Linked DNA regions of Homo sapiens: all the other regions are linked to region 2. Evidence: promoter capture Hi-C in 16 types of primary human blood cells and fetal thymus (Javierre and others, 2016). All regions are on one chromosome and are shown on one strand. Each heading gives the region's core, a stretch centred on a gene start or on the middle of the fragment in contact. The rest is flanking DNA. Distances are from core to core; before and after follow the strand shown.

The links. Contacts are between HindIII fragments. The CHiCAGO score rates a contact against its expected background, and 5 or more counts as called.
Region 1: a contact is called between a fragment that was not itself captured here and the fragment with the promoter of RBX1 in region 2, in 4 of 17 cell types (endothelial precursors, M2 macrophages, M1 macrophages and 1 more). The highest score is 6.3, in endothelial precursors.
Region 3: a fragment that was not itself captured here is called in contact with the fragment with the promoter of RBX1 in region 2 in 1 of 17 cell types (endothelial precursors); the score reaches 5.8 in endothelial precursors.
Region 4: a contact is called between the fragment with the promoter of EP300 here and the fragment with the promoter of RBX1 in region 2, in 17 of 17 cell types (naive CD4 T cells, megakaryocytes, total CD8 T cells and 14 more). The highest score is 30.1, in naive CD4 T cells.

The regions. Positions count from the first base shown.
Region 1 is chr22:41,150,129-41,154,706 of GRCh38, forward strand. EP300 (EP300 lysine acetyltransferase) reads left to right here. Exons shown (of 31, transcript NM_001429.4): 14 at 1-70; 15 at 1,705-1,884; 16 at 2,078-2,222. Among named protein-coding and RNA genes, the nearest start is that of EP300-AS1, 45 kb to the right of the region's middle. RefSeq lists an enhancer at 1,251-2,450. The HindIII fragment of the contact is 2,014 bases long and covers 956-2,969 here.
Region 2 is chr22:40,950,045-40,955,986 of GRCh38, forward strand. RBX1 (ring-box 1) reads left to right here and starts at 1,334. Exons shown (of 5, transcript NM_014248.4): 1 at 1,334-1,432; 2 at 3,511-3,589. The coding sequence starts at 1,355. RefSeq lists enhancers at 296-886, 1,401-1,610, 2,066-2,654 and a silencer at 771-1,350. The HindIII fragment of the contact is 5,907 bases long and covers 1-1,906 here.
Region 3 is chr22:41,171,295-41,178,122 of GRCh38, forward strand. It overlaps EP300 (EP300 lysine acetyltransferase), which reads left to right. Exons shown (of 31, transcript NM_001429.4): 28 at 1,205-1,369; 29 at 2,329-2,490; 30 at 4,953-5,234; 31 at 5,479-6,828. Among named protein-coding and RNA genes, the nearest start is that of EP300-AS1, 23 kb to the right of the region's middle. The HindIII fragment of the contact is 346 bases long and covers 1,111-1,456 here.
Region 4 is chr22:41,088,610-41,095,363 of GRCh38, forward strand. EP300 (EP300 lysine acetyltransferase) reads left to right here and starts at 3,983. Exons shown (of 31, transcript NM_001429.4): 1 at 3,983-4,489. The coding sequence starts at 4,396. MIR1281 (microRNA 1281) reads left to right here and starts at 3,904; the gene lies at 3,904-3,957. RefSeq lists silencers at 2,884-3,173, 3,274-4,043, 4,224-4,323 and an enhancer at 4,434-4,673. The HindIII fragment of the contact is 3,482 bases long and covers 1,934-5,415 here.

The sequences.
Region 1 (4,578 bases), core at 713-3,212, 200 kb after region 2:
ACAGCAGAGCACAGCAGCGTCTGTTCCTACCCCAACAGCACCGCTGCTTCCTCCGCAGCCTGCAACTCCAGTAAGTAGAGATTTGGATTTAGGCAGAATCATTAGAGCTATACTGTAGTATTATATTACTTCTGGGCCATTTCCATTCTCTTTTGCTTTATCTCTTACTGTTTTCTCCACAAGTAGAATGTAATCTATTTTTCATTAGGGACTTTTGTATCCTGTTTTGCCTTCCTGTGATAGTACCTATCGTAGCAGGAGCATAAAGATTTTATTTAGCTCTGACTTTGACCATTATGTTTCATGTTGTACCCTGAGGTCTGAAGGTACGTAAAGGGGTACGACAAGGGGACACAATCCTTCTCCTTATTTAGTATATTATTTAGTGCAGCACATAAATTTTACATATATTTAAGGAATCTTTTTCAAACAGTTTGAGCCATAAAACCTAGAGATTGAATTTAAAAATTGCAGATTTGGACGGGCGCGGTGGTGTACACTTTTCATCCTAGCACTTTGGGAGGCTGTGGCAGGCAGATCACTTGAGGTCAGGAGTTCAAGACCAGCCTGGCCAACATGGTGAAACCCTGTCTCTACAAAAAAATAACAAAAATTAGCCAGACATGGTAGCGGGTGCCTGTAATCCCAGCTACTCGGGAGACTGAGGCAGGAGAATGGCTTGAACCTGGGAGGTGGAGGTTGCAGTGATCCGAGATTGCGCCACTGCACTCTAGCCTAGGCGACAGAGTGAAACTCCGTCTAAAAAAAAAAAAAAAAATTGCAGATTTATGAGTCCTTGTGGCCCAAACCAAAGTTTAAAAATAAGATGAGAGAATTATAGACCCAGAACAACCTGTAGCTTCCTTGTGAGAGGTTGGTTATGTATATAATAAAAATCCAAATTCTCATCTAATAGTTGAATCCTTATTAATAGAACTTTTTTTAAGGGTTTAGAAGCTTCTACTTTGATACCGATATTAATATATATCGGTATCCAATAGTTCTCAGCCATGTTGATGAACTGAGAAGTTCCATGAGTCACAGCCGTTTTATAAAGTACTGTACTTGACGGATGGCTGGTTCATCGTGGCCTCTGATAGACAAGGAAGGACAGAATGAGAGAGGAACCAGTGGATCTGCTTGATTTTATTCTTTATAAAATCAAGGATACTTCCAGAAAATACTGACTTCTCATTAAGAGATTTCTTATGACAAGCCTTAGGATAAAGATAGGGAATGCCAGTTTATCTCATTAGAATCTAGCGATTCAAAACAGCCACTCTCTGGGACATCATTATATTTATTGTCTCCTTTTCTGTACCTTTGAAACTTTCTCTGGTGAGAAGGTAAAAACAAGCCAGTCTTTCTTATTTTCTTTCACTCATTTCTGTATAAATGTGAGCTCCTCTGAAGCAGACATCTTTGAAATCCCCACACACTGCCAGATAATGATAGTTATCAATGAAATAGTTGCTGGTTCTTTGATGTACAATCAGCCAACCAGTATTTACAAGTCTTAATTCTCCTGTTCTTAAGCATAATTAAGGGAGGTGAAATGGGCAGAGCAAATGAAAGCACCATGAATAAATATAAGCCAAGAAATAGGTGGCTAATTCTGCTATCCTGTTGCTTACCTTACATTCTGATTGTATCGTTGGCAGACTCTGCGTGTGTCTCACCTACTTCCCTTTTTTTTCTGCCCAGCTTTCCCAGCCAGCTGTAAGCATTGAAGGACAGGTATCAAATCCTCCATCTACTAGTAGCACAGAAGTGAATTCTCAGGCCATTGCTGAGAAGCAGCCTTCCCAGGAAGTGAAGATGGAGGCCAAAATGGAAGTGGATCAACCAGAACCAGCAGATACTCAGCCGGAGGATATTTCAGAGGTGAGAGTAGGGCAATTACTGTTTGATTTGGTTAGGACCTCAGTATAGGAACCCAAGTTTTAAAAAATATTGCAGAAAAATATTTTGATAATTAGATCTCATGGCATAGATTTTGCATGAGAAAGGGTGTTCAGATTACTGATTCCCAACTAGATATCTTTGGAATACTAAAAATTCTTACGTTTTCTTTTAGTCTAAAGTGGAAGACTGTAAAATGGAATCTACCGAAACAGAAGAGAGAAGCACTGAGTTAAAAACTGAAATAAAAGAGGAGGAAGACCAGCCAAGTACTTCAGCTACCCAGTCATCTCCGGCTCCAGGACAGTCAAAGAAAAAGAGTGAGTCTCTGAAGCCATTCGTTCTGGAGGTAGCTGAAGAAACCAAAGACCCAGGGCAGAATTGCGGTCATGCCTCTTGGGCCTCAGAAGTTGCCATTATTGTGATTTCATTAACCTGGAAGCCCTGGGCCTGGTCTCTTCATTGTTACTAATAATTTTTCTTTCTTTTTTTTTTTTTTAATATTCACTTGCAGCAACCAATGAGTTAAGTCATTCCCCTCATTTCTTCAGGGTTCCCTGTGTTAGTACACCCTAAAAATTGTCTCATTTTTCAGGAGAGAGAAATGTTTGTAAATAGCCTTGACTAAAATGCAGGAAAGAATAGCAATAGTAATAGCATTTGTCATTCACCTGCTGTGTGCTAAGTATCCACATTGTCTCATTTAATAATTTCTTTCTTTCTTTTTCTTTTCTTTTTTGTTTGGAATCGGATTCTCACTTTTGTTGTTCAGGCTGGAGTGCAGTGGCGGGATCTGAGCTCACTGCAACCTCCACCTCCCAGGTTCAAGCGATTCTCCTGCCTCAGCCTCCCGAGTATCTGGGACTGCATGCGCATGCCACCATGCCCGTCTAATTTTTGTATTTTTAGTAGAGACAGGATTTCACCGTGTTGGCCAGGATGGTCTCGATCTCTTGACCTGGTGATCCACCCGCTTCGAGCTCCCAAAGTGCTGGGATTACAGGCATGAGCTACCACACCCGGCCTCATTTAATAATTTCACAACAGCTCTGAGGTTATTGGCCTGAAGCTTAGCAAAGTTAAGTAACTTTCCACAGGTTACTCAGCTGACCCTACTGCCTGGGCCAGGAAGCAGACCCAGGCAGTCTGAGGCAGAGTGCTCAAATCCAGCCATTCCAACAAGTGTTAATTGACTATTTTAGGACTAGAACTTTTGTGGCTCTAGTGATCTGCAAAAGGCACCAGGTAGGACATACCTGAGGAGTGAGTCTGCTGGCTCTTACAGATGATATATATTGAAAAGTGTTCCATTAATACAATGTGTTGTAAAATGTTGGGATTAAAAAATTATTTTCATTTTAAAAATAAGACTTGTATATATTGAGGTGTTTTAATATGGGCTGTAACAAACCCAGTCTTACTATTGGCAATCTCTCTTTAAAATGTGTGTTCCCTCATGCCTGTAATCCCACCGCTTTGGGAGGCCGAGCGGGCAGATCACTTGAGGTCAGGAGTTCAAGACCAGCCTGGCCAATATGGTGAAACTCTGTCTCTACTAAAAGTACAAAAGTTAGCCGGGTGTGGTGGCTCTCACCCGTAGTCCCATCTACTTGGGAGGCTGAGGCAGAAGAATCACTTGAACCCGGGAGATGGAAGGAGGTTGCAGTGAGCCAAGATGGCGCCACTGCACTCCAGCCTGAGTGACAGAGAGTAATTGTCTCAAACAAATAAATAAAATAAAATGTCTAATTTCACAAGTTTATTCAAATAGTCCTTATTTTTAGCACAGCTAAATATGAGTGACAAGCATCTTCGTAGTCTGGTTTCCCCCCACTCCATGGCAACCCCCCAGAGGTGAAAATTATCTGAAGTAACAAATATACTCTACCGATGATGAAATTTTTTTTGCCAATTAAGAAAAAATAAGGCCCTTGCTGAAATTGAAAGCTTTTTAAATCACTGGCTTCTCAAAGAACTGTTTGATTCCATTTGGGACACACCAACAAATTTTTCCGGACTTTTTGGGAAATATCATTGAGAACACATTTGAACTTAATTTGATCAACTAAGTCTATTATTTTAGCAATACCATTTTTGTTCTCTCTTCTTTTAAACTTAAACCTAACATTTGTCATTAAAATAGTACATGTCTCTTTTTCTTTGGCTCTAAAATACCAAGCATTTGAACGAAGGAGTCTTCTCTTCTGTGCCCCTGACTCCTTGTAGTATAAGACAATACCTGATCTAGTCTAGTTTCTGACTTGTTAAATACTGATGTCATGAAGAAAGACTTTTCTGTTCTTGCTTGACTGCATCTCCCTCTTAACACGAGTATCTTGTGCACTCTTTTTTTTTTTTTTTTTTTTTTTGAGATGGGGCCTCATTCTGTTGCCTAGGCTGGAGTGCAGTGGCGCCATCTCGGCTCACTGCAACATCTGCCTCCCGAGTTCAAGCAGTTCTCTTGCCTCAAGCCTCCTGAGTAGCTGAGACTAGCATGCCACCATGTCCGACTAATTTTTTATATTTTTAGTAGAGACGAGGTTTCACCATGTTGGCCAGGCTGAAACTTCTGACCTCAAAGTGATCTGCCCACCTCAGCCTCCACCGTGCCTGGTCCCATGGACTCTTATTTGGCAAAGTCTCTTCATAAATTTTTAGAAGCCTTTGGATTCTGCT
Region 2 (5,942 bases), core at 84-2,583:
GCCAGAAATGGGAGAGTGACAAAGTACAGGTGCTTGGGTCGGGTGGGATGGCTCACTCCTGTGATCCCAGCACTTTGGGAGGCCGAAGTGGGAGGATCACTTGGGCCCAGGAGTTCGAGACCAGCCTAGGCAACATAGTGAGACCTTGTCTCTATTTTTTAAAAAAATTAAAAAAGAAAAAAAAAAAAAGCGGCTCTAGCACTTTGGGAGGCCGAGGCAGGCGGATCACCTGAGGTCAGGAGTTCGGGACCAGCCTGGCTAACGTGGTGAAACCCCGTTTCTACTAAAAATACAAAAAATTAGCCGGGCGTGGTGGCGGGCGCCTGTAATCTCAGCTACTCGGGAGGCTGAGGCAGGAGAATCGCTTGAATCCTGGAGGCGGAGGTTGCAGTGGGCCGAAATCGCGCCATTACACTCCAGCCTGGGCAACAAGAGTTAAAAAAGAATGCCTCACAAAAATTCAAGAAATACAGCGACTGCAGATGGGTCGGTTTCACTACAGCACAAGCAGCGGAAAAAGGACACAGATCGGGGAGAAATCACCCTACAAAGATGACAACTGAGGAATGCGGAGTGGGGACTGACACACGTTACGGTGAAACCGTGCACCACGACCAAAGGCGGTCCTAGGACTGCGACTATGTGGGCGCAGAGGCCACCCCCCAGGCTTGGCGGGCGAGTAAAGGCAGGGCTGGGGGCCTGCTCAGTGTGGCCTTAGGGAGGAACTTCGGGGGTCTCCTCTCTCCCCATCGAATCCCTGAGCAGTTCCCGAACAGAAATCGGAGACCAGACGGTGCCTGGGCCCCAGCCCTCCCACGGGGACTGCACCTTGGGCCTGGCTCGGAAGCGGGTCAGAGTCTGCGAAAGACCAGCGAGGACTCTTGGGTTTCGGGGCAGGCCGCGGGCGCCCACCCACGCCAGCACCGGGAGCCGCGCGGCGACTCGGCGAGCCCGGCAGGCAGGACAGGACTGCGGCGCAGGTCTGGCTCAGGCGGAGGAAGCAGCCGCCGCCCCAGCTGACGGAGTGCGGCCGGGGGCTTCCCAGAGGAGGCGGCGACGTCGAGCCCTTTCGAACGTTTCCACCCGGCTAGCTCACGTAGCCTCGGCCCCGCCCGGCCCCGCCCGGCCCCGCCCCACCCACTCCGGCCACCGCCCCCTCCCCGGCCTACAGTTCGCGGGTGGGGCGACCTGCGACAGCCCCTTTAAGAGGCGTGGTCACGTGCTCCGCCCCCACCTCCGCCTCGCGCGCCAGTAAGGGGTGGGGTGCGGGAGGAGGTGCCGGGGAGGTGGGGGGAGCGAAGTGTGCGCTGCTGCGCAGGCGCGGTGGTCGGACGACAGACCGTGTGTTTCCAAAATGGCGGCAGCGATGGATGTGGATACCCCGAGCGGCACCAACAGCGGCGCGGGCAAGAAGCGCTTTGAAGTGAAAAAGGTTGGGTCTCGCCAGCGCCTTCCTCAGGGAAGCTAGAGAGGCGCGGATCTGGCTGGCAGGCCCGAGGATGGTCGAGGCGCGGAGTAAAGGGTTTCATTTCAGGGCGTTCCTGGGACCGGGTACCACGAAAGGAAGCCGGGGGGCGGGTCTTAGAGTTGATCGGCGTGACGGCGGCCCACTGTTGGGGGAAGTGTTGGTTTCGCTGTGAGGCTAAGGGGCCAATCACAGAGCTGCTTATTGAGATACGCGGGGTTGCGACTTGGCGGCGGGAGCCAAGCGCTTGAGCTGTCACTGGAGTGGTTGAGAGGTGGGGGAAGGACAGGGTAGGGTGGGGTGGGGTGGGTGGAATGGGGAGTCGAAGCGAATGCGGCGGTGGAGGATGGGGCAGTGCGGCGAGAGCCTGGAACCTGAGGTCCTACCGCATTAGAGGCCTCTGAGGACCCCCCTTGGTGATCTTGCTCCGCCCCTTTTTGAAGCTTGGGGTCCTCTCACTTGGAGGGGTCCTCTCACTTGGAGGGATCCTCGCTGAACCGAGGCCTCACACTGCCTGGTTAGAGTCTGGAGTGTAATGCTTGGCTCTTCTGAGACGTCTGTTGGCTTTTCACACAACCACCCCACTCTTGGGTTCTCTGTCACGTCCAGAATCTCCCCCTTCCAAAATAATAATAAAAAGCATGGTGGAACTTGTTAAGAAAATCCGAGCCCAAATCCTGTGGCAGTTAGGGAGGGTTGAGTACTAGTCGCGAACGACTTGGTAAGCGTGGGAAAGCAAAAATGGAACGTGTCTTTTTGCATGAAATGCCTTTTAGTGGTTTGCCACAGTTTGGGAGAACAGTATCGATTCTCACCTAACATGAAAGCTGTTCAAAATGGAGATTCTAAAATAGGGAAGATATTCCTAGAACATCTGGCTAAACACTGACAATATCCCCCGTCCTAGTGCTTTTTGGTGTCTCATTGTGGCCACTGCTGCTCAGTTACAGCCAGCAGCCATATTGAAAAATAATAGAAGTAGGGGCTTTTCCTCCACCTTGAAGCTGTGATGTGAAAAGTGGTAAAGAAGTTACTAGGCACTGAGAATGGGGTTTGAAAGCGAAGAAGGTTTGGGAGTATTTGTAATTGAGGAAGCCAGAGTTGAATGAATGAAATTCTGTTAAACTCTTACTGGAATTATTATCTTAATAGAAGAGTCTAAACATATAAAAGTTGAGAACATCAGTTTATTTTATGGTAAGAATCAAAATTCTAGTGAATTGTAGAATTTGTTATGAAGTAATCTAAGATTTAAGTGATGACCTTGTTCTGTGTACTGACACGGGTATTTAATTATCCAGCTTATCCCATGATTACCCATTTTATGATCCAGTCATTATCTTAGTTCATTCTGTTCTCTAGCTTTCACTTCATTGCTCATGCTTCCAGAGCTGTGTAGAGCAGATACTTATTCAGATTTTGAGCTCTTCTGCAACTGCCACCAAAACCTGCACAGAAATTCAAGTTTGTGCCCTTTTTTTTTTTTTTTTTTTTTTTTTGAGATGGAGTCTCACTCTGTCGCCCAGGCTGGAGTGCAGTGGCACGATCTTGGCTCACTGCAACCTCCGTCCCCCAGATTCAAGCGATTCTCCTGCCTCAGCTTCCCAAACAGCTGGTATTATAGACACCCGCCACCAGGCCTGGCTAATTTTTGTATTTTTAGTAAAGATAGGATTTTGCCATGTTGGCCAGGCTGGTCTTGAACTCCTGACCTCAGTGATCGGCCCGCCTCGGCCTCCCAAAATGCTAGGACTATAGGCGTGAGCCACTGCACCCGGCCAGACTAAATTATTTTAAACTATAGGAAACAAATTAAAAGATGACATTAATTTCTGTGTTCATATACTCAGCCTTTTGGAGAATAGAACATACGTGTAGTCTACTGTTGTCTTTGGTATAATAAGATTAACGTAATATCCAAAAACTTTTGTTTGGTGGTTCCCTGTGGCCAAAGAGATGATAACTGCAGCTGCAGCCTGAGGTCCTAAAGAGTATGTGTGTGTGTTACAAGCAGAATGCACTGTTCCCTCTTTTTGTCTTTGCAGTGGAATGCAGTAGCCCTCTGGGCCTGGGATATTGTGGTTGATAACTGTGCCATCTGCAGGAACCACATTATGGATCTTTGTAAGTAATTGGAGGAGGATGGGAGGAAGTTGAGAAGGTTGCAGAGATTGTGGCTATCTTGATGTGACTGATTTTCTTCTTCACACGAGGAGATAGCAAGCCTACTCTGAGCACTCGGTCTTCTGTATCTAGTCTGTTGGTGTGTTTGAAATAGAGTAGTTTTTTTATGATGTCCTGGAGGCATACCCAGCTCTCAGAATAAATCTACTCAATCTAAAGATGGCAGGGACACATTTAGAATTAATTGTGGACGACAGGCACTGTTGATTTTTCCTGCATATCTTCCATCTTGTACCTAGACTCAAAGGTAGAAATAGTGAAAGGAGGAAAATAAACTTTGAGCTAAAATATTCTGAGGCCAAGCGCAGTGGCTCATGCTTGTAATCCCAGCACTTTGGGAGGCCAAGGCGGGCAGATCATTTGAGGCCAGGAGTTGACCAACCTGGCCAACATGGTGAAACCCTGTCTCTACTAAAAATACAAAAATTAGCTGGGCGTACTGGTGCATGTCTGTAATCCCAGCTACTTGGCAGGCTGAGGCAGGAGAATTGCTTGAACCTGGGAGGCAGAGGTGGCAGTGAGCCGAGATCACACCACTGCACTACAACCTGGGCGACACAGCAAGACTCAAAGTCTCAAAAAAAAAAAAAAGTCTATCTGATCTAATTTTTGCTGGTCATTGTTTACAAAGGAAAGAAGCGTTAAGGAGTGAGGATTTTGTATGTTAGGCCCAAACATAATAAAAAGGAAATCATTGCCAACATCTAAATAAATAATTAATTGCACTAAAGAAATTTCATTTAAATCTCCACATATTTTATTACATGTAGTGGTCAGCACATAGTGATCTGATTATAGTCTTTGATGAACTGATTTCCTGTCCTTACAGTAGAAGGGACAAGAATGTTGATCACACCAGGAACAGTTGAGGTTACTTTTTCATCCGGGAACTAAAATGATTTGTTACTGAGGCCAGAAATGGAGGAAAGAAACTTTAAGTTTCTAGAAATGGAATTATAGGAACTTATTTTTCAGATCACTCACCTGCCTTTACAACTTTGTCTTGAGTCACTCCTGCTCACTCTGTTAGTTTACCTGGATGCTTTTTTTTTTTTTTAACTGACCACGGTGGCCAAAGCAGCCATGGCCCCGGCCAGTTTTCCATTTTTTTTCCTTATTCTGAGATGGAGTCGCCCAGGTTGGAGTGCAGTGGCGTGATCTCAGCTCACTGCAACCTCCGCCTCCCGAGTTCAAGTGATTCTCCTGCCTCAGCCTCCTCAATAGCTGGGATTACAGGCACCTGCCACCACACCCAGCTAATTTTTGTATTTTTAGTAGAGACACAGTTTTACCGTGTTGGCCAGGCTGGCCTCGAACTCCTGACCTCGGGTGATCCGCGTGCCTCTGCCTCCCAAAGTGTTGGGATTACAAGCATAAGCCACCATGCCCGGCCTGCTTTTCCATTCTTAAGTGTCCATGCTCTATTTTAGAGCCCTTAAATAGCCTAGTCTTTTTTGCCTAGAATATTCTTCACCTCTTCTCTTCCTTGGTTTTGTCTAACCCAGCACTGTCCAATCTGAATGTAAGCCAGTACAAACACGTATATAATTTTAAATTTTCTTTTTCCTTTTTTTTTTTTTTTGTTTTTTTCAGAGACGGGATCTCGCTTTGTTGCCCAGGCTGGTCTCGAACTGGCTTCAAGTGATCCTCCCACTTTGGCCTTCCAAAATGTTGCGATTATAGGCGTGAGCCACTGTGGCTGGCCTGAAATTTTCTAGTATCCACATTCATAAAGTAAAAAGAAAATAAAAAGGTGAAATTAATGTATTTTATTTAACCTTATATAGTCAAAATAGTTTTACTTCAACATGTAATTGATGTAAAAAAAAAATGAGATATTTTACATTCTGTCTTTGTACTATCTTTGAAATTCTGTGTATTTTACACTTACAGCACATCTGGATTCAGACTAGCCACATTTCAAGTGCTCAGTAGTCACATGTGGTTAATAACTACTTTATTGTGCAATGTAAGACTAACCCATAGTTGAGCTTTAGATCTTATCTTAAACTTGCTCAGATGTTTTCAACTTGAAAAGCACGAATCAAATATTTTCTGTTGGAAAGCAGTCATGGCTTATACTGGTCATGTATTGCCCTTGGCTTCTTTGAGCTTTGACACTGTTTATCTCTTCACACTACAGCCAAGGAAGATCAGCACCTACCATAATGTTTAATATAGATGCCGTGAACCCATCACAGAAAAACATATGCAGGGTTTCAAATGTGTTTGGGTGGGGTCTTTGATTACATGCTTGCCAGTTTCTCGGCCTTGCATTTTCACAAGGAGTTAT
Region 3 (6,828 bases), core at 34-2,533, 220 kb after region 2:
GGTTTTTTGTTGGTTTGGTTTGGGTTGGTTAGGGTTTTAGGGGTGTGGGTGTTTTGTTTTCAGAAAGGGTCACTCTCTGTCACCCAGGCTAGGGTGCAGTGGCATGATACCCGCTCATTGCAACCTGTGCCTCCCAGGCTCAAGCCATCCTCCCATCTCAGCTTCCTGAGTTGCTGGGACTAGGTGCACACTACGAGAGCTAGCTGATTTTTGTATATTTTTTGTAGAGACAGGATGTCACCATGTTGCCCAGGCTGGTCTCAAACTCCTGAGCTCAAGTGATCTGCCCACCTCAGCCTCCCAAAGTGCTAGGATTATAGGCATGAGCCACATCACCCAGCCAAAAATATATTCTCCCTTTTTTTTTTTTGGACGGAGTTTCAGGCTGGAGTGCAATGGTGCAGTCTCCTGGGTTCAAGTGATGGTCCTACCTCAGCCTCCCGAGTAGCTGGGATTACAGGCATGCACCACCAAGCCAGGCTAATTTTTTCTATTTTTAGTAGAGACGGGGTTTCTCCACATTGGTCAGGCTGGTCTCGAACTCCTGACCTCAGGTGATCCACCTGCCTCGGCCTCCCAAAGTGCTGGGATTACAGGTGTGAGTCACTGCACCTGGCCAAAAATATATTCTTAATTAACAGTATTATGTTATTCATAAATATAGGTTGTCTCATGATACAGACTTGTCTTCCTCAATTTAGTAGTTCAACTAAATAAAGAAGTTTTCCTAAGCAGCCCAGCAAATCATTCTGCAGCAGATACTATTTCCAGTATTTGTAGTTTTGGTCATTTTGAACAAAGCTGTCAGTAAAAGCTGCTGAAATTCCAAGGATGGGTGTGAGGAGGGCATGCTTCATACCACATATTCTGTGATAAGGAGTGGTAGGGGCCATGGCATGCATGATGGTGCTACCACCCTGACGTTGATCCTGGCAGGATAATTGCCACTTGGTTATATAAAGGCAGATAAGCTCCCTGTTTTTGTGGGTAGAAGAAATAGAAAACCGGAAATATTGACTTTAGGCCAGGCCTTTTCACTATTTATTTTTCTAAATACTCCCTGGCTTACGGCTTAGGTATAAAGTCTCTGCCAGCTTTCAAGACATTTTAAGCTTTCATGTTTCTTGTCAGCCATGATTATTCTGTATAATCAATGCTTTAAAAGAACATAGAAATTCCTATATGTACATGCATGTTTTCACAGGATATTTTTAAACAAGCTACTGAAGATAGATTAACAAGTGCAAAGGAATTGCCTTATTTCGAGGGTGATTTCTGGCCCAATGTTCTGGAAGAAAGCATTAAGGAACTGGAACAGGAGGAAGAAGAGAGAAAACGAGAGGAAAACACCAGCAATGAAAGCACAGATGTAAGGGCATTGAGTTTCCTTTGAAACTTCTATCATGATTCTAATATTTAATCCAGAAGTGCACTTAAACTTTCAATTGGGTTTTAAAGCTTTCAGGTGTAAAAGAGCTCTTTAAGTTGGACAAGAAATATTGGCTTAGAGAGGTTATTAGGGTTCTGTTTCAGTGGTATTAAACTTTTAAAGCATCAGAGCCCCTTTTAAAATGGCATCTCAGACTTTGAGTAATGTGAAATGATAAAAGAAACTGAAGGAAATCCTGAAAAACTGATAGAAGATTACTTATCTGAAGGACTAGGTTATGAATATTATAGGCCTTGTGGGTCACATATCTCTGGCATATTTTCTGTCTTTTAAAAACACACTCTTTTTAAATGTAAAAAACCATTCTTAGCTATACAAAATAGGCCTGAGCCAGAATTTAAGTTACTAAGCCTGGCTTAGTAACCTCACCAGTTATTTCCCCATAGCATATCTCGAATTACCTCCATTGAATTTAACTTAACAAAAGGCACCCTTAAATAGTCTGTTAACAAACTCTTACAGCCTTGTCATTTAGTATTTGTAGGCTCATAACATTTTAGAATATGAGTGGAAGGAAATAAAACCAAGGTCTTCTGGCTCCCCACTTTGATACACTCTTCACTACCCCAAAGTGCCACCCCTTCCTTGTTCCCTAGCCCCAATCTGGGATACATTCAATCAATCTACAGGGTCTGCACATTCTGTGGCCTCTTCTAGGCAAAAAGCTAAAGGGCTGCCATTGCCTTAAAGATCACTGGGAGAAAATTAGGTCAAATAACAACTTTAAGGAGAAAGAATAAGTGAAGAGAACAGCTAGTAAAATAAGTTACAGGCATAAGATTATGATATCTAGTTTCAAAGAAGGGAGATATTCTGTGCTATTCCCAAATTACTTAACAAAAACCTTATTTTCTTGTCTCCTTTGTGCTACTCTGCAGGTGACCAAGGGAGACAGCAAAAATGCTAAAAAGAAGAATAATAAGAAAACCAGCAAAAATAAGAGCAGCCTGAGTAGGGGCAACAAGAAGAAACCCGGGATGCCCAATGTATCTAACGACCTCTCACAGAAACTATATGCCACCATGGAGAAGCATAAAGAGGTAAGATGCAGCCACCCAGAGTTGGGGAAAAACGGCAAGATTTCTGGCCAGGCATGGTGGCTCACACCTGTAATCCCAGCACTTTGGGAGGCCAAGGCGGGTGGATCACCTGAGGTCAGGAGTTCAAGACCAGCCTGACCAACACGGTGAAACCTTGCTCTACTAAAAATACAAAATTAGCTGGGCATGGTGGCACATGCCTGTAATCCCAGCTACTCAGGAGGCTGAGGCAGGAGAATTGCTTGAACCTGAGAAGCGGAGATTGCAGTGAGCCGAGGTCACTCCATTGCACTCCAGCCTGGGCAACAAGAGCGAAACTCCACCTCAGAAAAAGAAATAAGAAATGAATAAAAACACTGACTGTTCGCTGGGCGTGGTGGCTCATGCCTGTAATCCCAGCACTTTGGAGGTTGAGGCAGGCGGATCACTTGAGGTCAGGAGTTGGAGACCAGCCTGGCCAACATGGCGAACCGAAACCCCGTCTCTACTAAAAATACAAAAATTAGCCTGGCGTGGTGGCACACACCTGTAATCCTTGGGATGCTGGGGTGGGAGGATCACTTGAACCTGGGAGGCAGAGGTTGCAGTGCACTTACAGCCTGGGTGACAGAACGAGACTCTGTTTCAAAAAATAAAAAGATTTAACCTTTCTGAAAGTGAATTAGTAAATAGAATTGGAGAAAAGTTAAACTTCCACATATGGACTTACAACCCCCTTCTCAAAACTTTTTGAGTTATTTCATCATTTACATTGTTTAGTTGTTCTTGCAGTCATTTGGGAAAATAACTGGGTAAGGTTTTTTTTTTCTCTCTTTAATATCATATAATTGATAACGAAAGCCAGGAGAATTGAAGAGTAATTCCTCTCAGGGTTTGTCCAATGGTAGTAATCTCGATTGTTCAGTCAGACTCCTCATTTTACTATCTCGGTTCTCAGACATATAATCAAGTTCTTATAGGAAGTGGTAATTAAGTTGAGAGGGAAATGAAGGCTTGATTTCAGGTTGTAATTCCGTACCTAAAAATTGGTTAAACAGTCTCTTTGGGAGAGAAATAGTTAACAAAATCTTTTTTAGAGAGGAATTTGTTATAATGATGTTATCATGGTGAACACCTATATACATAGGTGTTCAAAGTATCTTTTCCCCCACTGCTCCCCCCATCACCACCCCTTTTTTGTTAGCCTAGAATAATGGGCTACGATGTAATAATGGTAATAACCATTATCTCAGCCATGCTAGTGAAATGGAAGGATTCCTGAGTTCTAATACGTTAGGTAATGATTATTAACAATTAATAGTTACTAGCTATTTCAAGCAGTAAGTAATGCCACAGAATCCTAGGCAGTTGGGAAAAGCCCTTAGAATATATTGTAATAGGTTTGACTTAAATTGTGGACACATTCCATGGCTGTTTAAATTTAGGTTGTAAATCCAAGTATTGGCCTGGTTGTAGGGTGACAGAAGCAGCGAACATTGCTGGCCAGAGACTGTGAGTGTGGCTGCCAGTGTGCACAGATGTTGAATAATCTGTTATCAGTACAGCAGTTTCTCACAAGTTCCTAATTTCTTAAGGGGATGTTTTACATTTTATTACTTTAATAGGTGTTTATAGTTATATACTAATTAATGTCAAATACATATGTAATACCAGCTTTTTATACCTTTTACACTAATGGTTATGAGAATTGATGGTTGTTACAAGTTTTTTCAAACTTCAATGAACAAGAATTTTATTGCTTTGTCAACAAAGACTAAGATTTTTTATCCATTCCATTCCCTTCCAAACCTGTAGGAAAAGTTACACAGGAAAGTTGCATAGGGGACCTTCATGAGTCCAGGCCAGTTGTTTTTCATACTGTCTCCATATTTGGATTTGTCTGGTTTGTTGTAATTAGATTGAGGTTAAACCATGGATTGCATCTTAAAGTAGACTGCCTTGAGGCAAAATGTCCACTGTGCATGGTGCTATACCTCACCCAGACCATTGTTACTCTGAAGGAGTTACTGAATGAAGGAGAAAAAAATCACAGGATGTGCATTTCAGTTCTATTTATAGTCAGTCTCAAGAGACCAAAGAGGTAAAGCAGGAAAAGGAACAGGAGGCGTATGGTGGTGAAACTAACTCAGCATTCGCCAGTCTCATTGGTGCTCAGCCTGCTGTACCTGCTCACACCTGTAATCCCAGCACTCTGGGAGGCTGAGGCAGGCAGATCACTTGAGCTTAGGAGTTTGAGACCAGCCTGGGCAACATGGCGAAGCCTCGTCTCTACAAAAAATGCAGAAATTAGCCAGGTGTGGTGGTGTGGGCCTGTGGTCTCAGCTATTCAGGAGGCCATGGTGGGATAATTGCTTGAGCCCAGGAGGCAGAGGTTGTAGTGAGCCAAGATCACGCCACTGCATTCCAGCCTGGATGACAGAGCGAGGCCCTGTCTCAAAAAAAAGAGACTGTCTGTTTTTCAGGTCTTCTTTGTGATCCGCCTCATTGCTGGCCCTGCTGCCAACTCCCTGCCTCCCATTGTTGATCCTGATCCTCTCATCCCCTGCGATCTGATGGATGGTCGGGATGCGTTTCTCACGCTGGCAAGGGACAAGCACCTGGAGTTCTCTTCACTCCGAAGAGCCCAGTGGTCCACCATGTGCATGCTGGTGGAGCTGCACACGCAGAGCCAGGACCGCTTTGTCTACACCTGCAATGAATGCAAGCACCATGTGGAGACACGCTGGCACTGTACTGTCTGTGAGGTAGGCACCGGGTTGTGGGAAGGAGGAGGTGAGCTCCGCAGGGTTGTTCTGAGGGGCCATGCAGCCACGTATTTTATAGAGGCCTGTGGGATGCTAGGGGCTTGGCCTCGTGTTTGAGGGGCAGAGCTGAAGAGGCTAGTTTTTGTTCTACGAAAGGGGCTTTTCTAGCCCAAACAATATCTAAAATACTTTTGAATGACTTAAATCTTGGAGAGTTTACGTGCACCTCCTGTTTTTTCCCTAGGATTATGACTTGTGTATCACCTGCTATAACACTAAAAACCATGACCACAAAATGGAGAAACTAGGCCTTGGCTTAGATGATGAGAGCAACAACCAGCAGGCTGCAGCCACCCAGAGCCCAGGCGATTCTCGCCGCCTGAGTATCCAGCGCTGCATCCAGTCTCTGGTCCATGCTTGCCAGTGTCGGAATGCCAATTGCTCACTGCCATCCTGCCAGAAGATGAAGCGGGTTGTGCAGCATACCAAGGGTTGCAAACGGAAAACCAATGGCGGGTGCCCCATCTGCAAGCAGCTCATTGCCCTCTGCTGCTACCATGCCAAGCACTGCCAGGAGAACAAATGCCCGGTGCCGTTCTGCCTAAACATCAAGCAGAAGCTCCGGCAGCAACAGCTGCAGCACCGACTACAGCAGGCCCAAATGCTTCGCAGGAGGATGGCCAGCATGCAGCGGACTGGTGTGGTTGGGCAGCAACAGGGCCTCCCTTCCCCCACTCCTGCCACTCCAACGACACCAACTGGCCAACAGCCAACCACCCCGCAGACGCCCCAGCCCACTTCTCAGCCTCAGCCTACCCCTCCCAATAGCATGCCACCCTACTTGCCCAGGACTCAAGCTGCTGGCCCTGTGTCCCAGGGTAAGGCAGCAGGCCAGGTGACCCCTCCAACCCCTCCTCAGACTGCTCAGCCACCCCTTCCAGGGCCCCCACCTGCAGCAGTGGAAATGGCAATGCAGATTCAGAGAGCAGCGGAGACGCAGCGCCAGATGGCCCACGTGCAAATTTTTCAAAGGCCAATCCAACACCAGATGCCCCCGATGACTCCCATGGCCCCCATGGGTATGAACCCACCTCCCATGACCAGAGGTCCCAGTGGGCATTTGGAGCCAGGGATGGGACCGACAGGGATGCAGCAACAGCCACCCTGGAGCCAAGGAGGATTGCCTCAGCCCCAGCAACTACAGTCTGGGATGCCAAGGCCAGCCATGATGTCAGTGGCCCAGCATGGTCAACCTTTGAACATGGCTCCACAACCAGGATTGGGCCAGGTAGGTATCAGCCCACTCAAACCAGGCACTGTGTCTCAACAAGCCTTACAAAACCTTTTGCGGACTCTCAGGTCTCCCAGCTCTCCCCTGCAGCAGCAACAGGTGCTTAGTATCCTTCACGCCAACCCCCAGCTGTTGGCTGCATTCATCAAGCAGCGGGCTGCCAAGTATGCCAACTCTAATCCACAACCCATCCCTGGGCAGCCTGGCATGCCCCAGGGGCAGCCAGGGCTACAGCCACCTACCATGCCAGGTCAGCAGGGGGTCCACTCCAATCCAGCCATGCAGAACATGAATCCAATGCAG
Region 4 (6,754 bases), core at 2,733-5,232, 140 kb after region 2:
ACGAGGTCAACAGATCTAAACCATCCTGACCAAAATGGTGAAACCCCATCTCTACTAAAAATACAAAAATTAGCTGGATGTGGTGGCGCACACCTGTAGTCCCAGCTACTCGGGAGGCTGAGGCAGGAGAATCACTTGAACCCAGGAGGCAGAGGTTGCAGTGAGCTGAGATGGCGCCATTGCACTCCAACCTGGCAACAGAGCCAGACTCCGTCTCAAAAAAAAAAACAAAAAAAAAAAACTGGGCAAGCAATCTCCCACCAGGAAATGACAGAGCAAGTTTCCAGGTGTCCTCCACATTTCTCATTTCTTTGCTTTGTTTTTTAAAATATTTATTTATTTATTTTAAGAGACAGGATCTCTCACTCTATTGCCCAGGCTGTAGTGCAGTGGCATGATTACACCTCACTGCAGCCTCGACTTCCCAGGCTGAAGTGATTCTCCCATTTCAGTATCTGGAGTAGCTGGACTACAGGTGCTGTGTACACCACCGCGCCTAAGTAATTTTTTTTTTTTAACTTTTGTAGAGATGGGGAATAGGGGGGTCTCTTTATGTTTGCTGGGCTCAAGCGATCCTCCCACCCTCGTCTCCTGAAACGTTGGGATTACAGGCATGAGACACTGTGCCCGACCAACATTCTTTCCTTTGTACTCCTTAGTCTGAATATGGGTATAAACTATTAAAAATAACAAAATTATCCCTGAAGGCCAATCTTGATCTCACTCCTACACATTGAATTCATCCTGTAACAACTTTAAGATAAAGAAGTTCTGTCCTTTTCAATTTGCCTGCTTTTTTTTTTTTTTTGAGACGGAGTCTCGCTCTTTCGCCCAGGCCAGAGTGCAGTGGCGCGATCTCGGCTCACTGCAAGCTCCACCTCCCGGGTTCACGCCATTCTCCTGCCTCAGCCTCCCGAGTAGCTGGGACTACAGGTGCCCGCCACCGTGCCCGGCTAATTTTTTGTATTTTTAGTAGAGACGGGGTTTCACCGTGTTAACCAGGATGGTCTCGATCTCCTGACCTCGTGATCCGCCCGCCTTGGCCTCCCAAAGTGCTGGGATTACAGGCGTGAGCCACCGCACCTGGCCTTTTTTTTTTTTTTTGAGACAGAGTCTCGCTCTGTCGCACAGGCTGGAGTGCAGTGGGCGATCTCTGCTCACTGCAGGCTCTGCCTCCCAGGTTCACGCCATTCTCCTGCCTCAGCCTCCCGAGTAGCTAGGACTACAGGTGCCCGCCACCACGCCCAGCTAATTTTTTTGTGTGTGTTTTTAGTAGAGACGGGGTTTCACCGTGTTGGCCAGGATGGTCTCAATCTCCTGACCTCCTGATCCGCCCTCCTCGGCCTCCCAAAGTGCTGGGATTACAAGCGTGAGCCACCACGCCCGGTTCAATTTGCCTGCTTTTCTACTGCAGTTTGGGTGATCTAGGCCTGATCATTAGAGGACAGATTCCATCCCTGTCAGCAACTTCAATTGCTCCATTAGGATCTTCACTCTTATGTTCTTATTTATTCATCCCAACATTAATTTAAAAAACAAACAGAAACAATATAAAAAAAAAAACAAAGAAAATCCAACAATTTGCAAATACCAGCTACGGAGCATGAGATATGAAATAAAAGAAAAAAAATTTTTTTTTCTTTGGGACAGAGTTTTGCTCTTGTCGCCCAGGCTGGAGTGCAATGGCACAATCTCAGCTCACTGCAACCTCCGCTTCCCGGGTTTAAGAGATTCTCCTACCTCAGCCTCCCAAGTAGCTAGGATTACAGGCGTGCACCACCACACCCGGACAAGTTTTGTATTTTTAGTAGAAACGGGGTTTCACCATGTTGGCCAGGCTTGTCTCGAACTCCTGACCTCAGGTGATCCACTGGCCTCGGCCTCACAAAGTGCTGGGATTACAGGCGTGAGCCACCGTGCCTGGCCGAGAAAAAGCTTTTAACCGTATCAGTAGATACTGGTTTCGGGGTTTCTTTCGGGGTCACTTACACCCCTGCCACCTCCTCCAGTACCAATTTACCCATGGCCAAACACAGGGTGATGTGTAGGAACCTGAAAGCACGTCTCCGACCTCAGCTGCAAAACTGTGGAGTCCCACACACTAGACTTTATATTCCAGCATTTCCTCTCACCATTACATTTTTGCTTTTTTCCATCCTTACATTACCTTTACCACATTTTTGTTTTTCCCATAATTACATTAGATAAGGCAATGGCTAGACGTGGTCTTTTACTAACTTGTTCTATTGGGAGCGGACGAGAAAAAAAAAAAAGACAAACCCTAGAAATGTCTTCAGGTCCCAGCCATGTTTAGGAAAATACTTGAAGGCTTCTGCGGTGAGAGTGCTACCTGGTAAGGGCGTATGGACACACGTGGAGGGCAAGAAATGAATTTGGGTCTGGTGCCGAAACATCTTTCCACTGCTGTGATTTTGTTTTCTGGTCAGAGTAATAATGCTCGTTGTAAAATAAATAAATAAATAATACATAAAAAGGAAAAGGAAAATTCAGAGAAAATGAAAACAACTCGTAATCAACGTGCTTTTTGGATGTGAACTGCTCCCTTTGGGAGGGCAATGGAGAAGTGAGGACGCACTGGGTATCTGGCCCGGAACAGCCGGCAGTGGGTACACCCTGCCTGGTGAATTCGACCGGGGTTTTGGGGGACCCGCCACCCAAGGGCCGAAGAGCAGGGCCGCCCTACGGGCGCTCCCATTTGGCCACCTGAGTGGCGACTTGGCGCCTTCCTCGGAGCAGCTCCGGGGTTCCGTCGTCCCGGTTCCCACTGGTCCCTTACGCAGAGACCAAAGGCAGGAACCTTCCCTCGTAACTATCCACCGACTGAAAATAGATTCTGAGTCCGCCCCCGCCCCTCCCCCCTTAAAATCCTCCCCACTCTTAAAATCCTCCCCTTTAAAGGGAGCCACAGGGTGACGCCGGGGGAGTTTGCGGAAGCGCTAACCGCGTTGGGGCCTAGGGCGGATCCCGTGATTGGGACAGGCCCCGCCCCCGGCTCCACTTCCCCCATTGTGTGAGCGGCTCGGGCCTAGGCCCCGCCCCCCTCCGGAGGCCCGGCCACTCCCCTTTTCCACCCCCCCTTGGCTCATTTCCGGCCGCCGCCGCTACCGCTAGCCTGTAAGGAGGATTCGGCAGAGGGAAGAAACAACAGCCGCCATCTTGTTTGTGTGCTAGGCTGGGGGGGAGAGAGGGCGAGAGAGAGCGGGCGAGAGTGGGCAAGCAGGACGCCGGGCTGAGTGCTAACTGCGGGAGCCAGAGAGTGCGGAGGGGAGTCGGGTCGGAGAGAGGCGGCAGGGGCCGAGACAGTGGCAGGGGGCCCGGGGCGCACGGGCTGAGGCGACCCCCAGCCCCCTCCCGTCCGCACACACCCCCACCGCGGTCCAGCAGCCGGGCCGGCGTCGACGCCTAGGGGGGACCATTACATAACCCCGCGCCCCGCGGCGTCTTCTCCCGCCGCCGCGGGCGGCCCCGAACGGAGCCCCGGGGGGCGGGCGCTCCCAGCACCTGGCCGCCGGCGGTGGGGGCCGTAGCAGCGGCCGTATTTATTTATTTTCCGCGGGAAAGGAAGGCGAAGGAGGGGAGCGCGGCGCGAGGAGGGGCCGCCTGCGCCGCCGCCGGAGCGGGGCCTCCTCGGTGGGCTCCGCGTCGGCGCGGGCGTGCGGGCGGCGCTGCTCGGCCCGGCCCCCTCGGCCCTCTGGTCCGGCCAGCTCCGCTCCCGGCGTCCTTGCCGCGCCTCCGCCGGCCGCCGCGCGATGTGAGGCGGCGGCGCCAGCCTGGCTCTCGGCTCGGGCGAGTTCTCTGCGGCCATTAGGGGCCGGTGCGGCGGCGGCGGCGCGGAGCGCGGCGGCAGGAGGAGGGTTCGGAGGGTGGGGGCGCAGGCCCGGGAGGGGGCACCGGGAGGAGGTGAGTGTCTCTTGTCGCCTCCTCCTCTCCCCCCTTTTCGCCCCCGCCTCCTTGTGGCGATGAGAAGGAGGAGGACAGCGCCGAGGAGGAAGAGGTTGATGGCGGCGGCGGAGCTCCGAGAGACCTCGGCTGGGCAGGGGCCGGCCGTGGCGGGCCGGGGACTGCGCCTCTAGAGCCGCGAGTTCTCGGGAATTCGCCGCAGCGGACGCGCTCGGCGAATTTGTGCTCTTGTGCCCTCCTCCGGGCTTGGGCCCAGGCCCGGCCCCTCGCACTTGCCCTTACCTTTTCTATCGAGTCCGCATCCCTCTCCAGCCACTGCGACCCGGCGAAGAGAAAAAGGAACTTCCCCCACCCCCTCGGGTGCCGTCGGAGCCCCCCAGCCCACCCCTGGGTGCGGCGCGGGGACCCCGGGCCGAAGAAGAGATTTCCTGAGGATTCTGGTTTTCCTCGCTTGTATCTCCGAAAGAATTAAAAATGGCCGAGAATGTGGTGGAACCGGGGCCGCCTTCAGCCAAGCGGCCTAAACTCTCATCTCCGGCCCTCTCGGCGTCCGCCAGCGATGGCACAGGTTAGTTTCGGCAGCCCCGGCCTTCCACGTTCCCTTTAATCTTTTCTACTCGGTGCGCCTTTATTCTTCCATTTTTTTTTTCTTCCTCTCTCTCTAGTTCCCTGCCCCTTAATTAATTTTAAAGGTATTTGAATGAGCTGGTCGAAGACGTCCAGTAGCCCAACCATTTTCTTTGCCTCCTAATACATTGATTGCAACACTATGTCATATCGGTGTGTGTTCTGGAATTAGAGCTCGTAAGTGGGTGCTATATAGAAATGGCCTGTATTGTTGCTCTCATGCAATTTAATTTGGGAAATGCCAATGCATTTGTGTGTAAGAGCTCCTATGCAATTTAAGTTTCATTTTTTTTGTTCTTGGCAAATGAATTTCGAATCCTTTCTCTTTACTGTACTTACTGTGTTTCCTCTACTTTCCACTCTTCGAAATTTTCTCTCCTTTGCAGAATATTTTCTGTTGAGGAATAGGGTGTAAAAAAATCTTGATTTTGTGTGTGCGAGGTCCAAGATTTCAGGTTAGAGGTGAAGTTTAACAATTCTTTTATCTTACCTACCATTCTTAGCTTTTTTTTCCTTTTTCTTCTTATTTGCTTTAAGAATCAATATGGAGCGCAGTTCATTTCACATCTCCCAGTTCTTTGGTGTGAGACCAAAATGTCTGAAACTCTGGGTTTTTAGGTTGGGAGAACAGGGGCATGTTCTTTGCAGTTTGCAGTCACTTTCTCATTTTAGGGGAAATAAGATAAACAATTTTGTGGAGTTACGTACCTGGAAATCAAGGTTAGAAGTTGAAAGAGTTCCAATCATGAACTACAAACGTGAACTGATTGTACAAAAGTTTAAAATGTGCATTAGGTTTGGTGTTTGTGTGTGTCTTTGTCTTTTTACACTTTTAAACATACTTGGAGATCAAGATTTTCGTTTAAAAGCTTTACGACCAGTTCATTCAGTTGTGGACTAGCTCCTTTGTCAGGAGAAGTTCAGGGAGACTTCTTCCATCATCCCTTCATTCTTTTCTTACAGTTAGTTTAATGGTGTTATCCTGATGGGTAAGGACCTTTTCTTTGCTGGGATAATGAAGATGAAGAATGGCTGGCCATCTGACAGTCCACAAGATGTTCCCCTTTACTACGGAGCATCTCTTTAACTCCCTGAGAGCAGGCTCAGCGTCATCCCTCCATCTGCCAGTGAGAGTGCATAATGGAGTTAAATGTACCCTTTGAGTTTGTAGAGAACTTCGAGAGCATGTTTCTAAATAGGCTTCATTTCAGAGGGTGAAAATGGGAAGACAGAGCTAATGCTTTGAATTCGTTGCTTTTATAAGAAAGATGTGAAATGAATTTAAGTTAACCTGCAAAAATTGAGAAGTAGGAATCTTGCGAGTTCCTCTACCTAAGGCTTGTAACATTGATTATGCATGAACTTTGATCTGTACCTATTCTATGAAGGTACTGTAGTCTCCAGGGATTTTTTTAGCTGGTTTTTTCCTTCAGAATTCATACACATACACAAACGTCGTTGTATTCCTTTGCACCTACTAAAGTGCCATTCAGAAACATTTTTTAGATCATCTTTAGAGACTTAATCACCTGTAGATTTTTGTGGTGTTTCTTTCGTATTTGTGTAATGTGGTAGTTTTTGCTTTTTAGTTTTGGTGTAACGTGGTAGTCGATTTTACATTGGAGTTAGCCAGTGACTTGGAACGTAGGGGAAACTTTTTTGTGTACTTTGAGTAGTCCTGATTTGAGCAGTTTCGTCTTGGAGCTGTATTGTTTAAATACTTCTGTTCAGGTGTGCTACTACTTTCTCCATGTCGGTCTGTTTTGCTACTTGAAATATCTTTGAATAATTACAAGAGTTTTAAATGTGTTAAGTGGGCTTTTATAGTTTAAAAAAAAACTCAACATTGAGATTAATTCATTCACTCATAATGCTAAGAGTTTATCTTAGTTACTTTTCTAAATTTTGTAATGAGGGTTAACTTTACCCCCCTCCCCAAATCAAGATTCTACTCCAGGAATTCTTTGGTGTACGGTTTTTAATTGTAACCAGTCTGGGTTTGGGGGAGGGGAGAAGTGAGTATAAAGAAAATACTGTCCCTCTGTTAACTTACTTCAAGTTGGGTACCATTGTAATTTTTTTTTTTTTTTTTTTTTTTTTGAGATGGAGTCTCATTCTGTCACCCAGGCTGGAGTGCAGTGGTGCGATCTCACTACAACCTCTGCCTCCTGGGTTAAAGCAGTTCTGTCTCAGCCTCCCTAGTAGC